Linked DNA regions of Homo sapiens: region 2 is linked to region 1. Evidence: promoter capture Hi-C in 16 types of primary human blood cells and fetal thymus (Javierre and others, 2016). All regions are on one chromosome and are shown on one strand. The core of a region is centred on a gene start or on the middle of the fragment in contact, and the rest is flanking DNA. Distances in the headings are between cores, read along the strand shown.

Region 1 (6,712 bases), core at 1,596-4,095:
CTATTAAAAGGACTATGTGCAAACAGGCATGCCTGGAGGAAGCCAAGGACCACGATAAAGGAAAACAAACACCTTATGATTCATCTAACATAGGCCCGGTTACAATCGCAGGTGTAAAAGGAACTGGGAGCTGGCAGTGAGAGACAACAAACATCAGTGGAACATGGGATGGTGACTCTTTCTGGCTGAGCGCCACACGTTCCTACCAGGAATCTTCTATTAGTCATTTGGGCTGGAGAGTGAGATCCTTCCTCGCTCTCCACCGTCCAGGGTCATGTTTAATGGTGATGTTTGTTCTTTCCAAGGAGAGAAGGCCCATCTAATTGCAGGGCTTTTGTTTTCCTGAATGGACTCAGGAAGGCCATGGCTGAAAACGAGGGTGCTGAGAGGCTGTAAGGAGAAGGGAAGGAGTTGGAGGCTCTGGTGGAGTGAGGAAGAGCAGGGCAGTATCCCATGTCCTCTGATGTTAGGGGTGAGGTCAGGAGGGTGGGTCTCACCTTCTCCTTTCTCTGCCCTGCATCGGTCACCATGGTTTAAAAATCAATGCTATTCCATGAGAGGGCTGCCACTTATCATTTCAGTTCCAACACCTGGAAAGTAAAATTATTGTCTCCCAAATCCACCCAGCACCATAGGCTTGAATAGGGATCATATGCTCTAAGACCATTCATGAAAACAGAGACAACCAAGGAGACAGTCACCCAATGCTGTCCCTTCAGCTTGCATTATTTTCTGACAAGACAGCTCTGCCATCCATGGAAGCCTGTGTGCTCCTCCATCCCTGGATCTTTATGCATCCTTTTCCCCACAAACCCAAACCATCCCTCTTAAAATGAAAAGCTTAGGAATACTCACCCTAGACTGAGTCACGCGTTTCTTGTACAAACTTTAATTAGACTTGATTTTTTAAAAATTTCCCTTGTGGCTTTTAATTATTAGACAGAGCAAATGTCTCTAGTATTAAACTTATATGTCACATAGCCTCTTTATCAATGGCCCTAATACATTTCATGTGCTTTTCAGAAAGATTATATTCTTCCCAGAGCTGTCTGAATGTCTTTTTGAACCCCTCAAGACTGGACACCAAGGAGTATAAATAATCATTTTAAAAAAAATCACATTCCCTCCACAACCTTGAATCTGAAACGTGAATATATGAATAGAAGGGCTCTGGAATAACTATGCAGATTTATGGAGAATATCAACTTAAGTTATATCACGGGATCCAGCTATGCCTTTCTTCATGGAGTTGGGGATTTGTTAAAGTTGAGATATAGTTTGGGGGAAGTGTGATTTATGGTTAAAGTCATCTGAAAATCAATACATTTGAAGATCTCTGACATAAAGGTCCCTTGCAGAGCTAGACGTGATTCTAAAATTGGGAACACAGGAATAAAAATCAAATCTTGAGTAGAAGTAGCTGAAAATTGCAGTGATTCGGGGAAGCTTGGCTTCTAACTCCCCACTGTTTGAAGATGGGCTTGTTTGTTTTTTAAAACAGCCAACATAATTCAGCTGGAGGAGGTACAAAGAATTTTCTATTCCTTGTTTCTGTAGAAATCGATGGACTTTAGCTTGTCTAATTGTCCCCCCTGCCTTTAGTATCTAAAATAAAATAACCCTCGTTGCTTGCATTACTCAACGCATTTCTGCGTCTTGGCGTCTATGGCTAAACGAGTATTAATTAGACAGTCCGCAGAGAGCTGGCTGGGGATAGAAGGGGAGGTGGGGGAGAAGGGCAGGGATCACAGCAGGGTGGACTCGTGGCCCTGATTTGGGATCCTGACAGCAACTTACTAGGTGGCCTGAGGGCTGGGTGCCAGGGGAGGCAGCGGGTTCCAGTAGCATCTGACCTGCATTAGGGACAGGGGCGCGGCGGAGGGGGCGAAGGGGGCGGGGGTGGGGGGAAGGTGGCTGGGGTGAAGCCCAGCTTCGCAGCTAGCTGTGGGCAACAGAGGGAGTAAGGGGGGGCAATGAGGCTGGGGCCAGGCGCCAGCAGCAGCCACGCCCCCCACCTCCCCCGATTTTTAGGGAAAATTCTCCAAAGCTCTCGCATCCTCCTCTGCCTCCTTCCACCCTCCACCCTCCCAGCCTCCACTGAGACCTCTTTAAAACCACCCAGGGGCCGCCGGGGGATGAGGCCGGGGAACGGGCTGGACTGAGGGCGGGGGCTCGGGGGCAGCGGACGGGAAACGCCTCGAAAGCAGCCAGACCCGGCGACTGAAATGAGGCGGAGGAGCTTGGCGAGGGGAGGCGCAGGCTCGGAAAGGCGCGCGAGGCTCCAGGCTCCTTCCCGATCCACCGCTCTCCTCGCTGACCTCCGAGTCACCCCCGGAAGCTCCCGCCACTGCCGGGCGAATAGACCCCCGCGGACCCCCAAGCGCGCGGGGCCGGGGCCCTAGTTCAGGCCCTCGCTGCCCCTTTAAGGGTTCTCGAAACTTTCCCCCCGGTATCAGATGAGCCTCGTCACATCCGTTGGCCGTGGCCGCTGGGGCGCTTTCCGAGGAAATTCGGGACTCGAGTTTCCCGGGGAAGAGGCGCGGCCTGAGCCCGGCGAGGGTGGGGAGGGCAGGCGCAGGTGGACCCCGGCGCCCCCCGAGCCCCGCTGTGACCTTGGCCGCGGGGGAGGGGCTGGGCCGCTGCGGGGCAGTCGCGGCCGCCAGAGGGGGCAGCGGAGAAGAACTTGCCCAACTTGGCGGCGCGGGCTGGGGCGGCTCTGCGCCTCCGCGCCCGCCTCCCCGGCCTCCGCCTTCTCCCCTCCCGCGAGCCTCCTCCCCTCCCGCGAGCCTCCTCCCCTGGGCCCTCCTCCCGTCCTCCCCGCCGCCGCCGGTCCCGGTGCGCGCCCATCCCTGCCCGCAGCCCCGCGCGCCGGCCGAGTCGCTGAGCCGCGGCTGCCGGACGGGACGGGACCGGCTAGGCTGGGCGCGCCCCCCGGGCCCCGCCGTGGGCATGGGCGCACTGGCCCGGGCGCTGCTGCTGCCTCTGCTGGCCCAGTGGCTCCTGCGCGCCGCCCCGGAGCTGGCCCCCGCGCCCTTCACGCTGCCCCTCCGGGTGGCCGCGGCCACGAACCGCGTAGTTGCGCCCACCCCGGGACCCGGGACCCCTGCCGAGCGCCACGCCGACGGCTTGGCGCTCGCCCTGGAGCCTGCCCTGGCGTCCCCCGCGGGCGCCGCCAACTTCTTGGCCATGGTAGACAACCTGCAGGGGGACTCTGGCCGCGGCTACTACCTGGAGATGCTGATCGGGACCCCCCCGCAGAAGGTAGGGACCCCCGGCTGCTGCCGCGGGCTTTTCGGGCTCGTTGGAGGGAGGGGGCTGTCCAGAGACGCCTCCACGCGGCTTAGCGTCGCCCCCAAAGCAGCAGCTGTCCCCGCACAGAAGAGCGGGGAACGCAGAGGGGCTCGGGTGGGCCGGGGAGCGGGGGCGCTCGCTCTTGAGTCGCGGAGGACGGCAGCCCCCGCCCGGGGCGCACTGAGGGGTGTGCGCGAGTGTTTCAGAACTTGTGAGCTCCCCCTCCGCGGGGCTGGGCGGGAGAGGAGACCTGGAACTTGCCGCCTCCAATAACGTGATTTCCTTCTTGCGGGCGACACCTACTTCCAGCGGGAGACGGAGCGGTGGGCCTTGGGCGACGGGCTATTATGGGGAAAATCACCTCGTGTTCATACCCTCCCTCCCCCCCGCCCCCCCCCCACCCCACCACCATGCTGTCTCATTGCTAAAGAGGCTCGTGGCCGGCTTCCAAAGGCGCAGTACCCTTTAAAAAGGATTTATGCATGAGCTCAGCTAAAAGCAACCCGGTTAAGAAGTGGCTCGCTTGCTGCTCTGAGGAAGGAGCAGCGTCTCCCCTGCGCCCGCTTTCCTTTCTCGGAGTTGGTTTGTCAGCTGTGTCCTCGCTCATCCGGCGGCCCTGCCCCTCTGCACGGAGCGATGCATCTACACGCGGGTGTGCAGAGTGTGAAAAGCATTCCAGCTACCGGGAAAAAAACAGGGGCTGAGTGAGGTGTCCGGGGACCAAGTGGTATCCCGATTACAACACAAAAATAAAATCAAACAGCTTTCCTTTTCTCTTACTCTGATGTTCATTTACTAACACTTTTTGTAGCAAGAAACAAATGTTCCCAAGCACAGTGATCTGAAAAAAAAAAAAAAAAAATCCCAATTGATCTGCCCCCTCCTACTTTCAAACTGTCTAATCCAAGTGGGATTTGAAGTCCTTTGCTCAATTGAATGCACTATTTGAAGATAGTTTATTTTTATTTTTAACATTGTCATTTGGGTTTTGATTCAGCTATGATTCCCCCATAAATAGAACATACTCATGACTTTTGTATAATTCTCATTAAATTATTCAAGACTTTAAGAGGAAAGACATGCCATGCTAATTCTTTTAAAAAAGGAAACTGCCGAATAACTTCTGTAGTTGTTTAATTAGTTTAGGGGGAAAAAAAAACCTTCAAAAGCGTATATTCAAACTTTGATTCTAGTTGCCTTTCGTCTAAGTCATGGGAAGCCACGTGAGTGATCTTTGCCATCTCCAGGAGTGGATGGTTAGAGGGAGGGAATAGGAATCCCCATCAGCTGAGGGAGCTTAACTTGGCTGTAAGATGTGGTCTTGGTGCAGCCAACACGTGGGAACATGTGCCTGGTGCTGAGAACCTTGGAAATATGACAAGATATTGAGGAAGAACCTCTTCTGTGACCTGCAGAGAATCTTTTGGAACAGGCCTTGAATGAATCCCCATTGGACATGTGTGCTTTGATGCGAGGGAATTCTCTCTACTAAAAGTAAATGTGGGTGGTCTGAGGGCTATGATAAAAGAAGCCCTGAAACCCTCCCTCCAGAGCAAAGGGGAAAGGGAGAAGCCTGAAGAAGGACTAAAAAATACTTAACTTTGGCAATCAAAAAAAAAAAGCTTTTATAAATAATAACTTGCCTGTTAATTAATTCAATGACCTTTATTTTAAAATGATGAGGTTTAATTAATTTAATTAACAGAAATGTATTGAGTACCTAGGCTCCTGTCTTTACCGTAGCCAAGGCAGTAGTTGGTTCAAGATTACTTCTCAACCATTAGCATGTTTCCAGGGAGCGCTGCTTCTACAGAGACAGATTTAATTTTTACATGTGATGGGGAATGAAATATCCTGTACCTCCCTCCTGGCTTGATTTAGCGATAAGCTGCTTTATAACCAAATCTTTCCAAATGCCTACTGTAAAGTCAGGCTTTCCTGACTACTGCATTAGGATTCACTACCTGCCTGTGTTGCCCTGAAATGTCTCTGACCACCAGCAGGGTGTCAGCAGCCGGCTAGAGGGGGCAGCAGTGAGGTGACTTCTGAACCTGGAGTGAGCTTTCCTGCTCTATTAATGGCCAGGAGTCATGCATTTATTCTCTGCTGATTCTCTGAAGCCTAAAATAAAAATTGCTTAGGTGGAGAGAAAAATGGAATTGTAAATTCAAGCAATAAATAACCAAGAATTTTTCAAGAATTAAGTAATAGTCATAGACAATGTCTGAAAGCTCAGTACGTGACAAGCACTGCGCTCTGTGCTTTAGGTGTGCTTTCCCAGGAATCCCCACCCACCACCCACCACCCCTCGGGGGTCTTATACGCATTTGGGGGTGGGAAAACTGAAGCTCGGAGAGACTGAATGACTTTCCAGGGCAACAGGGCAAGAAAGAGGGAGGGCCAAAAATGGAAGCCAGGGAGCTGAACTTCAGAAGCCAAGTTCTGAACCACCAGACAGATAACGACTTCCTTCCCTTCATGCCTCCTGATCTCTTTGGTTTTGGCCTCAAACTACCCTTTCTAGCCAGAGAACCCTGAACGTACACCCCAAGGTGTTAGGGACTTATTGTATGACTGCAACTGGACCCTCCGGAACTCCGTGCTGTTCCCCCATCTCCTCTTTCCTTCAGCACTGCTGAATGAGCAACAGAATGAAGGGCTGGATCCAGGTGTGCACGGGAGAGGCCTTGAGAGGAGAGGTTCAACAGGAACCAGAGCCCTCCAGCTCCCCTTCTTTTATGGGAAAGTCAACTGTTGGAAGTGTGCTTGTTCCCCGAAGGCTTTAATCAGGAACTAGAGGTCCATTGTTTAAAGCCCAGTGACTCTGTGAGGAGTCACAGGCATGTGCCCGGAAGCCCGCCTGAGAGCTGCAAGGCGTGTGTGCTGGCAGGCAGGGCCACGTTGGCATGGAGATGACTGCCAGGTTTGCGGCTGATCCCATTATGTGGGTTCTTTCGAACTGTAGAACTTTTGAACAGTTCTTTCAACCAGCACCTGCTTGAACCGTGCAATTTGGTCTTATTAATAATAACACTCTTCTAAAGTAATTATAATTACAGCAATTTCTATTATGAAAAAAGAGACTTTCATGTTAACACAATAACTCCAGCTGAAGACAGGAGAAGGTGTGCAGCCATATACCTTGTAGTAGCTTCAAAAAAAGCCTTTGGGATTCTTTTTCTGAAAGATTTTCTGTCATCTCCACTAACATAGGTAAAGCAGACAGCAAAACTATTCTCATACCTGAACACTTGAATGTAAAGGGCCACCTAATTATTTTGGCGAATCCTATTTTAATCATGGTGCATTCACTTGATTATCAGCCTCTTAGTACACAATTATTTGGAAGACTTGTATTGAAAATATGGATCCAGCATATGCAATAAGAGTTTGTGTTCTTCAGAAGAAGCCATCCAGGCTC
Region 2 (6,712 bases), core at 1,333-3,832, 600 kb after region 1:
CGGGACATGGTCTTGTGCAAGCGGAGAAGCAATAAACGAAGGGAAAAGTGAGAAGCAGGGAGGTGGGGGAGACGGTGAGACCGCTCAGGTAACAAAGAGCTCCGAAGGAGAAACCTAGCAACTACCTTCAGGAAAATGCAGCCGGAAAATGTGTTTCATCATCTGTTAGCTGATGCCTCTCAGCGAGGCCTTCTGCACACCAATCCAATTATGTTCCCAGGGAGCCTCGGAGGGGTTCCCACACGGCTATTTTTAAAACTGACAAGAAACGGGCTTGTCCAATCGTCAGCTCTGTTGTTACAAACCTGGGGTTTGCTCAGGCTCGCCCCGACCAGCCAGGGCTGAATGTGGCAGGAGCGTCTCCCAGCCGGCGCCCCGCAGGCACTGGCTTCTTCTGAGCATCCCCTTAGCTGGGGGCTGGTAGGGGAGGAACGGGGCCTTTGGGATCACTTTATTCTCTCCAAACTGGTCACAGCACCCATCCCTACACCCCACCCTAGGCCCTGTGACCCCCACAATGAGGGTCAGCCAGGGAGGCCAGCTGCCTCTCCAAAGCCACCCCACAGGACCCTCCGAGGCACCGAGCCCCATGATGAAGGTAATCTCAGATCAATGGGGTGTCACCTGTGAACTCCCAGGAGGGCCCCCTGGCAGGCACTTCCTGTCCCTGGGAGCCTCGCTAAGTGTCTGGGGGCTGGGCGGCCCCCCAACCTTTCCTGCACAGAAAAGCAAGCTCACATGGCCTGGCGCAGCCTGCTCATCAAACAAGCCCCGAGCAGGTGCTGTGGCCAAGGGCCGGCTGAAGGCCTGGCCCAGGGGAGCTGCAGGGAGCCAGGAGACCCCAGACCACCTTGAGAGGCAAGCAGCGTTGGCCAGTGAAAATCAGCCTCACCTGCACCTGTACCTGTGGTGGCTCCTATGTAACAAGTGGACTAGACCATCACTGACCCCCAGCAGCCTGGAAGAGGCCCAGACCCGTGTGTCAGGGGTGAGAGGGGCTGTCCCTCCGAGAAGAGAAGCAAGACTTAGGCAGAAGGGGTACAGGGCCGGGGGCTGCACACAAAGACCCTAGGAGAATCCTATGCCCCAATTCAGGGAACATCTTGCAAATATGAGGGGCTGGGGTGGGAGGCAGCTCGTCAGAAAAGCACTGAGAAATGTGGCAGGGCAAGTGGCACAGCGACTACTTCAAGGCCTAGGTACAACCTTGTGAGACTGCAATGCAACCAGCTCCTGGAGCACAGTGGGACTGATGTACATTCCTAACAAGAACCTCAGGCTCAATACAGTCAATAATTAACCTAAAGGAATCAGCTTCACAAAGAGCCAGGGTTTGACCAACTTCTCAGAAAGATCAGCCACTGCTGCACATGGCAAAGCCCCAACCTACTCTACCAGGCCCAGCAGAGCACAGGAGGTGAAATGCTTCCTGCTAGGCGATGCTGACCTCGACCTAGCCACCTGACATGCCACCACCTGTCTGCTTTGGGCAGGGTAGGAAAGGCTTCCAGTTAAAGTACAAAACACTTTTCAACCAAGCTATGCAATATCCTAAGTGATCCACCTTAAGTGGAGAAAGCCTCCCTCCAACCAGGCCACCCAAGAAATAAGGGACTGGTCGCTAGAAATAACAGAAGATCCTAAGGATGTGAGCTGGTGAGTCAGTCCAGGTAGGTGCTTGTTTACTTTGCTCTTCCAATATAAGAAAGTGGTGTGAAAATTTTCACTGATGATTAAAGCTCACACACATCCCCAAGAGATAAAACGAATGCCCCTATGGAGAGGGTTCCCTTTCAGAACCTAACCACTGGCTGGTATTCAAAGTGGTTTGGATTTCATCAAAATAACCACAGCACCCCTCCTGGCCTGAGAAGTTCCCAGAATCTGAGGCAGGGGAGAAAAAGTGCACAGCCTGGGCCAGCATCTCACCTTTGAACTAGTGGTGATTTGATGACACTCGTCACCACTCTACTGGTGTTTCCAAGAAACACTGGATTTGAGGGTTACGGCAAAAAGCCACCACTATCTCTGCTGTGTAGTCTCCTAGCCAAGGACGAAAATGCAAAGGGAGAGGACAGGCCTCTCATCCACAGAGGCGTCACAGTCACGGTATGGGGCTGCAGCACGCACTGCCACCCCAGACACAGGCATCACAACGATTCTGCAGAAAAGCTGGGGCTTAGCGGCCCCATCACTCAATCAGCCGAGCATTCGAAACCAGGTCTGCCAGGCAGCAAAGGCTAAATGGTATTTTAAAAAGGTGTCGCTTCTGAGTGTATGTGTTCAAGGAATCTCTAGGTAAAATACAAGCATAGCTTCCATGTAGAAGGTAAGCTTCATTAAAGGATAAATAATTAAAACGTGCTAAATTGAGCCTTACATATGAACCATCAAAATCAACTGTAAACAGTGAAATCTACAACAACAAAGAGGTACTGTTCAAGAACATTCTCCCTACCTCTCAAATTATGCACAGACGACAACCGACCCACCGAATTTAACACGGGCGGCTCTGCGTCCTTCCCATTCGTCTTTGTTACCTTGAACACTCCTGCTAGGTAGGTACAGGCAGGTTCCATTCTGACTTTTGGACTGGGAAACTGGGGTGCAGGAGGGCCCCATGGCACGGCCACAGAACTTGAATGCAAGGCCCTTCCCTAGCGGGTCGGTCTCGAAATTAAGTCAGCTAAAACGAGAGTGTGCGGCGAGGAAGCGCTGGGCGGACGGATCAACACCCCGGGCCCCGTGCCGGACCCCACTGCCAGGCCCGAGCCCCGGAGCTCCACCGCGCAAGCGCCGGGCGCCCGGGAAGCCTCGCCCGAGCCAAGCCGAAGCTTCCGACCGAAATAATTACAGTCTTACACCAATTTGTGTTCCAACGTAAATTACTAAGTAAGTCGAACGGAGGCTAACTCCACTCACAAAGCCCAGAGGCCCACATGGCAATTTTTCTAAGCCCTGCGCAGACCGCAGCGCCCCGGTGGGTCCCGGGCGGGCCGGACGCGCCTCCCAAGGGCGCGGGTCCGAGGCGCAAGGCGAGCTGGAGACCCCGAAAACCAGGGCCACTCGGGGAGTGTCAGGAAGCACGACTGGGCGCCTTAGGACGTCCGGGCAGACGCGGCCCCCGAGGAGCCCCAGAGGAGCCCCAGAGGAGCCGCCTGACCCGGCCCCGACGTGCGCGATCGAGCCCGGGCTCGCCAAAGCCCCCGCGCCCCTCCGGCCCGGACAGGCCGAGTGGACATTGTCGGAGCCCCGCGGCCTCGCCGGCAATTGGTTTCCCCCCCGAAGCTGCTCCGGGGGTGAGTTCGGGAGAGAGAGGCAGGACCCCGGGACCAGAGCACCCCGACCCCGACCCCAGCCCGGGCCCCAGCCGCCCCAGCGCCCCGCCCGGGCCGCTCACCTGTCGTCGACGTGCAGGCTGGGCGAGCACTTGATGGCCAGCCAGGTCTTCCAGTGGACATGGCGCACCTTGTACACCTGCCCGAAGCCGCCCGAGCCCACCTTCTCCCAGCCCGTGAACTCGCCCGCGTCGAAGGTGCGCAGCAGCGCCAGGGCCCATGGGGTCCCGCCGTCGCCCTCCATCGCGCACGTCTAGCCAGCGCCGCGGCGGCTGCCCAGGTGCCCAGGTGCGCGCTCCGCCCTGTTACGTCACTTCCGTAGGTCGTCCCGCCCCCAGGCCCCGCCCACTTACCCGCCCCCCGGGCGCCCTCTCTGCCAGCGCCCGGTGACTGCGGACGGATGAATAGACGCTGCGGGTCACTGCGCTCTCCCCTGGGTGAGCAGAGCTTCTCACGCTTCTCACGGGTCTCGACGTGCGCATCAGCTGCCCTGCTTTTCTTTGCTTTTTTTTTTTCCTTAATTGCGGAGTCACATGCAGTTGTAAGAAATCATTCACTTTGCCTAGTTTCCCCCAGTGTTACCACTTTGCAAAACTTTGCCAAAAAAAAAAGTCCAATCTCACAACCAGGATATTGACTTTGATACAGTCACCGATCTTATTCAGTTTTGCCGTTTTACTCGTCTTCCTTTGCATGTATTAGTTTTACACAATGTAATCATCTGTGTACCTTCCCGTATCCACCCCCACCTGGCCACTCCTGTGGCGATTTTACAGCCGCACCCCGGAGCCCTGGCATCACTAATCTTTCCTCTATTTCTAAAATTGTTTTATTTCAGAAATGTTATGTTTAGATACAGGAATCATACAGCGCCTAATTTTTTGAAATTGGCTTTCTTCACTCGTTAGTCTAATTCCCTGCAGGTTCACGTCTTGCTTTTTTACACGAGTTTCCTCTCAGAAAGTAACTTTTTTTAAAAAATTACCCAACAGCAAATCTAAAGTCCATTTCAAATGCAAGAGTTCCCTCATCCTTTCCTAAATAACAGCCTCTTTTTACAGGTAGAACAGATGGTTTGAAAAGGAAAGATTTTTTTTTCACATATGGGGAAAAAAAATTCCCAGCCTTGGAAGGATATTTGGGTTAGAGGCCGAAGTGCATCACAGATCACGCACGCGTCCACACCTCAGAAAACACTCACTCATTCCTGAGACGCAACGGTGAGTGAAGGCTTATTTTTGGCCACAGGAGATTAATAATGAAGACAGGAGGGCGGAGCTAAAGGAGAGGGTATTTTAACGACATTAACTGTGTTTTTGTGTTAGTAACTCGGAAAGAGAGAGGCTGCCCCAAGTCAGCGCATTGAAAGCCGCAGACCTAGTGTCTCCAGGCTCCCCCTTCCAAACGGGCGCGGACCTTCTTTCATAGCCTGTAGCGGGGAGCCGCGTCTCCCCACTGCCTCCCCACTCCCATCCGGCCGCTCTTTGGAGGGAACTCACACATCCCAACATGACGATGCTTGCTCGGGGGGCCTCCTGGGGGGACCAGGGAGCCACTTCCTTTCCCACATACTCCGGAAATTAAAGTTGGTCTCCTTAAGGCTGGAGTGGCAAATAGTTGTTTTAAGCTTGTCACAAATGTAACTTACATTTGGACTAATGTTTTAAAAAATAATTGGAGTTTTGAATCTACGAAGATACCTTGGAAGTAAACATAGTTATTATTTTGGTGGGAAAAAAATGAATGGACTTGAAAGTGAGTCACCTGTCCTGTTCCCGGGGCTCAGCTCTAGCAAAGTACCTTTCTCCATCTACAGTCTCCGGCACACAGCTCCGCAGCTGGGGGTGACTAAGAGCCCACACCACGCAAGTAATAAAACGCTCCAATTTCATTTATTTAATCATCTGTGTGCTTCATTTGACAAATATTTATGGAGTGTCTGCTGCTAGCTCAGTGCCTGGTGCCTGGGACTGAAGACCAGAGCCCCCTGGAGACCAAAAGAGCCAGCTCCCAGCTGTGAGCAGATCGGGTCCAAAGATCACGGGCTCGGCGGCAGGAACCTGGTTTGGTATCCGGCTCCTCTGCGGACTTTGAAGTGCTTTACCGATTCACATGACAACTGGTAAAACGAAAACAAACACCTTTCCAGGAATTGTGAATTCGAGTTCCAGACCCTCTGGGATTCCGGGAGCGCAGCTGCTATTTATGTTAACAGTCATTGGTCCCAGGCTGGTGAGGTTAGAATTTCCAAGTATAAAAGTAATTTAGTTTCGTTTTAAATACATTTTAGGGCCAAAGAAAAGTGGAACGATTTAAAGAAAAAGATGAAATGAATAATAGGGCAAGTTGGGAGGTGGCTGTCCTGAGGTTTCATGGGACAACATTAATTAACCTCATGAAGTGCCTGCATGGACAACGTGCCCGGTGTGGTTACAAACAAACCAATCAGCACAGATCCTGGGTGGAAAGCAGGGCGCAGCCACGGAGGCACAGTAGGGGTGCAGACTTGAAGGTTTTTAGGAGGTAAGCCCCGAGGGCACGAAGCTCCACGGAGAGACTGTTGACCCGCCTGGGAGTGCAGTGCAGGTGAGGAGGGGAGGGACGACGAGGGGAGACAATGGGGGGTGGGAGGTGGGAAGGAGGAGTTGGGGAAGGGGGCTGTCTGCTGACATTTGCAAGCCCCCACTCCCCCACTACCCTGTGTTCCTCCTGGCCCCTTCCCCAGAAGAATTCCAAGCCAGTTTCCTCCTATACTGGATGTCCTGACAGCGAATCTAAATAGGTGATCCCTTGAGCTCCAGGTCCCCAAGCTGTGCCCTTCTTCATAGGGGGCCATTTAGCACTGACCCACCCAGCAGGCAGCCCAAGGTCCCTGGTCTGGAAGTGCCAGGAAGCTGCCTTTAACATCCTACCGCAGGGAACAATGAAGGTTGCCGGCCAGGGAGAAGACAGGATAGAGACGTCTCTGGGTTTGCAGCCAGCCTGCCTCAGATGGGGTCCCAGGCTGTGACCATGGTGCATTTGCCTGTCCCTGACATGTGGGATAGAGGGACCTGCTTCGAGATGTCGGTGGGGATCCACGCAGATGATAATTATATGTGTGTGGCACATGCCAGGCCATGGGTGAATAGTGAGATTTTCAATTGAGTCATTTTCGTCTTTGTCCTTCTCAGGGTCCTGGAGCAACTCAACCCTTGTAAGTGCATGGCTCAGTGAGATCGTGGAGCTGACATAGGGCTGACCTGGCTCTCAGAGGCCCCAGAATAAAGCTGGAGCCCCTGGGGTCCACCTGCTGGCATGACCATGGGACAGGGGCGTGGAGCTGAGCTGGGTCAGCCACCTGGGAACATAGTCCCCTCCCGCCAGGCCTCTGC

What was found. Contacts are between HindIII fragments. The CHiCAGO score rates a contact against its expected background, and 5 or more counts as called.
Region 2: a fragment that was not itself captured here is called in contact with the fragment with the promoter of BACE2 in region 1 in 1 of 17 cell types (naive B cells); the score reaches 5.1 in naive B cells.

What each region holds. Positions count from the first base shown.
Region 1 is chr21:41,165,315-41,172,026 of GRCh38, forward strand. BACE2 (beta-secretase 2) reads left to right here and starts at 2,846. Exons shown (of 9, transcript NM_012105.5): 1 at 2,846-3,261. The coding sequence starts at 2,950. It overlaps MIR3197 (microRNA 3197), which reads left to right and starts at 2,243; the gene lies at 2,243-2,315. RefSeq lists a silencer at 2,405-2,854. The HindIII fragment of the contact is 3,467 bases long and covers 1,445-4,911 here.
Region 2 is chr21:41,763,460-41,770,171 of GRCh38, forward strand. It overlaps RIPK4 (receptor interacting serine/threonine kinase 4), which reads right to left and starts at 3,593. Exons shown (of 8, transcript NM_020639.3): 1 at 3,401-3,593. The coding sequence starts at 3,582. It overlaps LOC102724800 (a long non-coding RNA gene), which reads left to right and starts at 3,708. Exons shown (of 5, transcript XR_937745.3): 1 at 3,708-3,775; 2 at 4,400-4,558; 3 at 5,155-5,924. RefSeq lists enhancers at 107-706, 150-444, 707-1,305, 5,210-5,504. The HindIII fragment of the contact is 500 bases long and covers 2,333-2,832 here.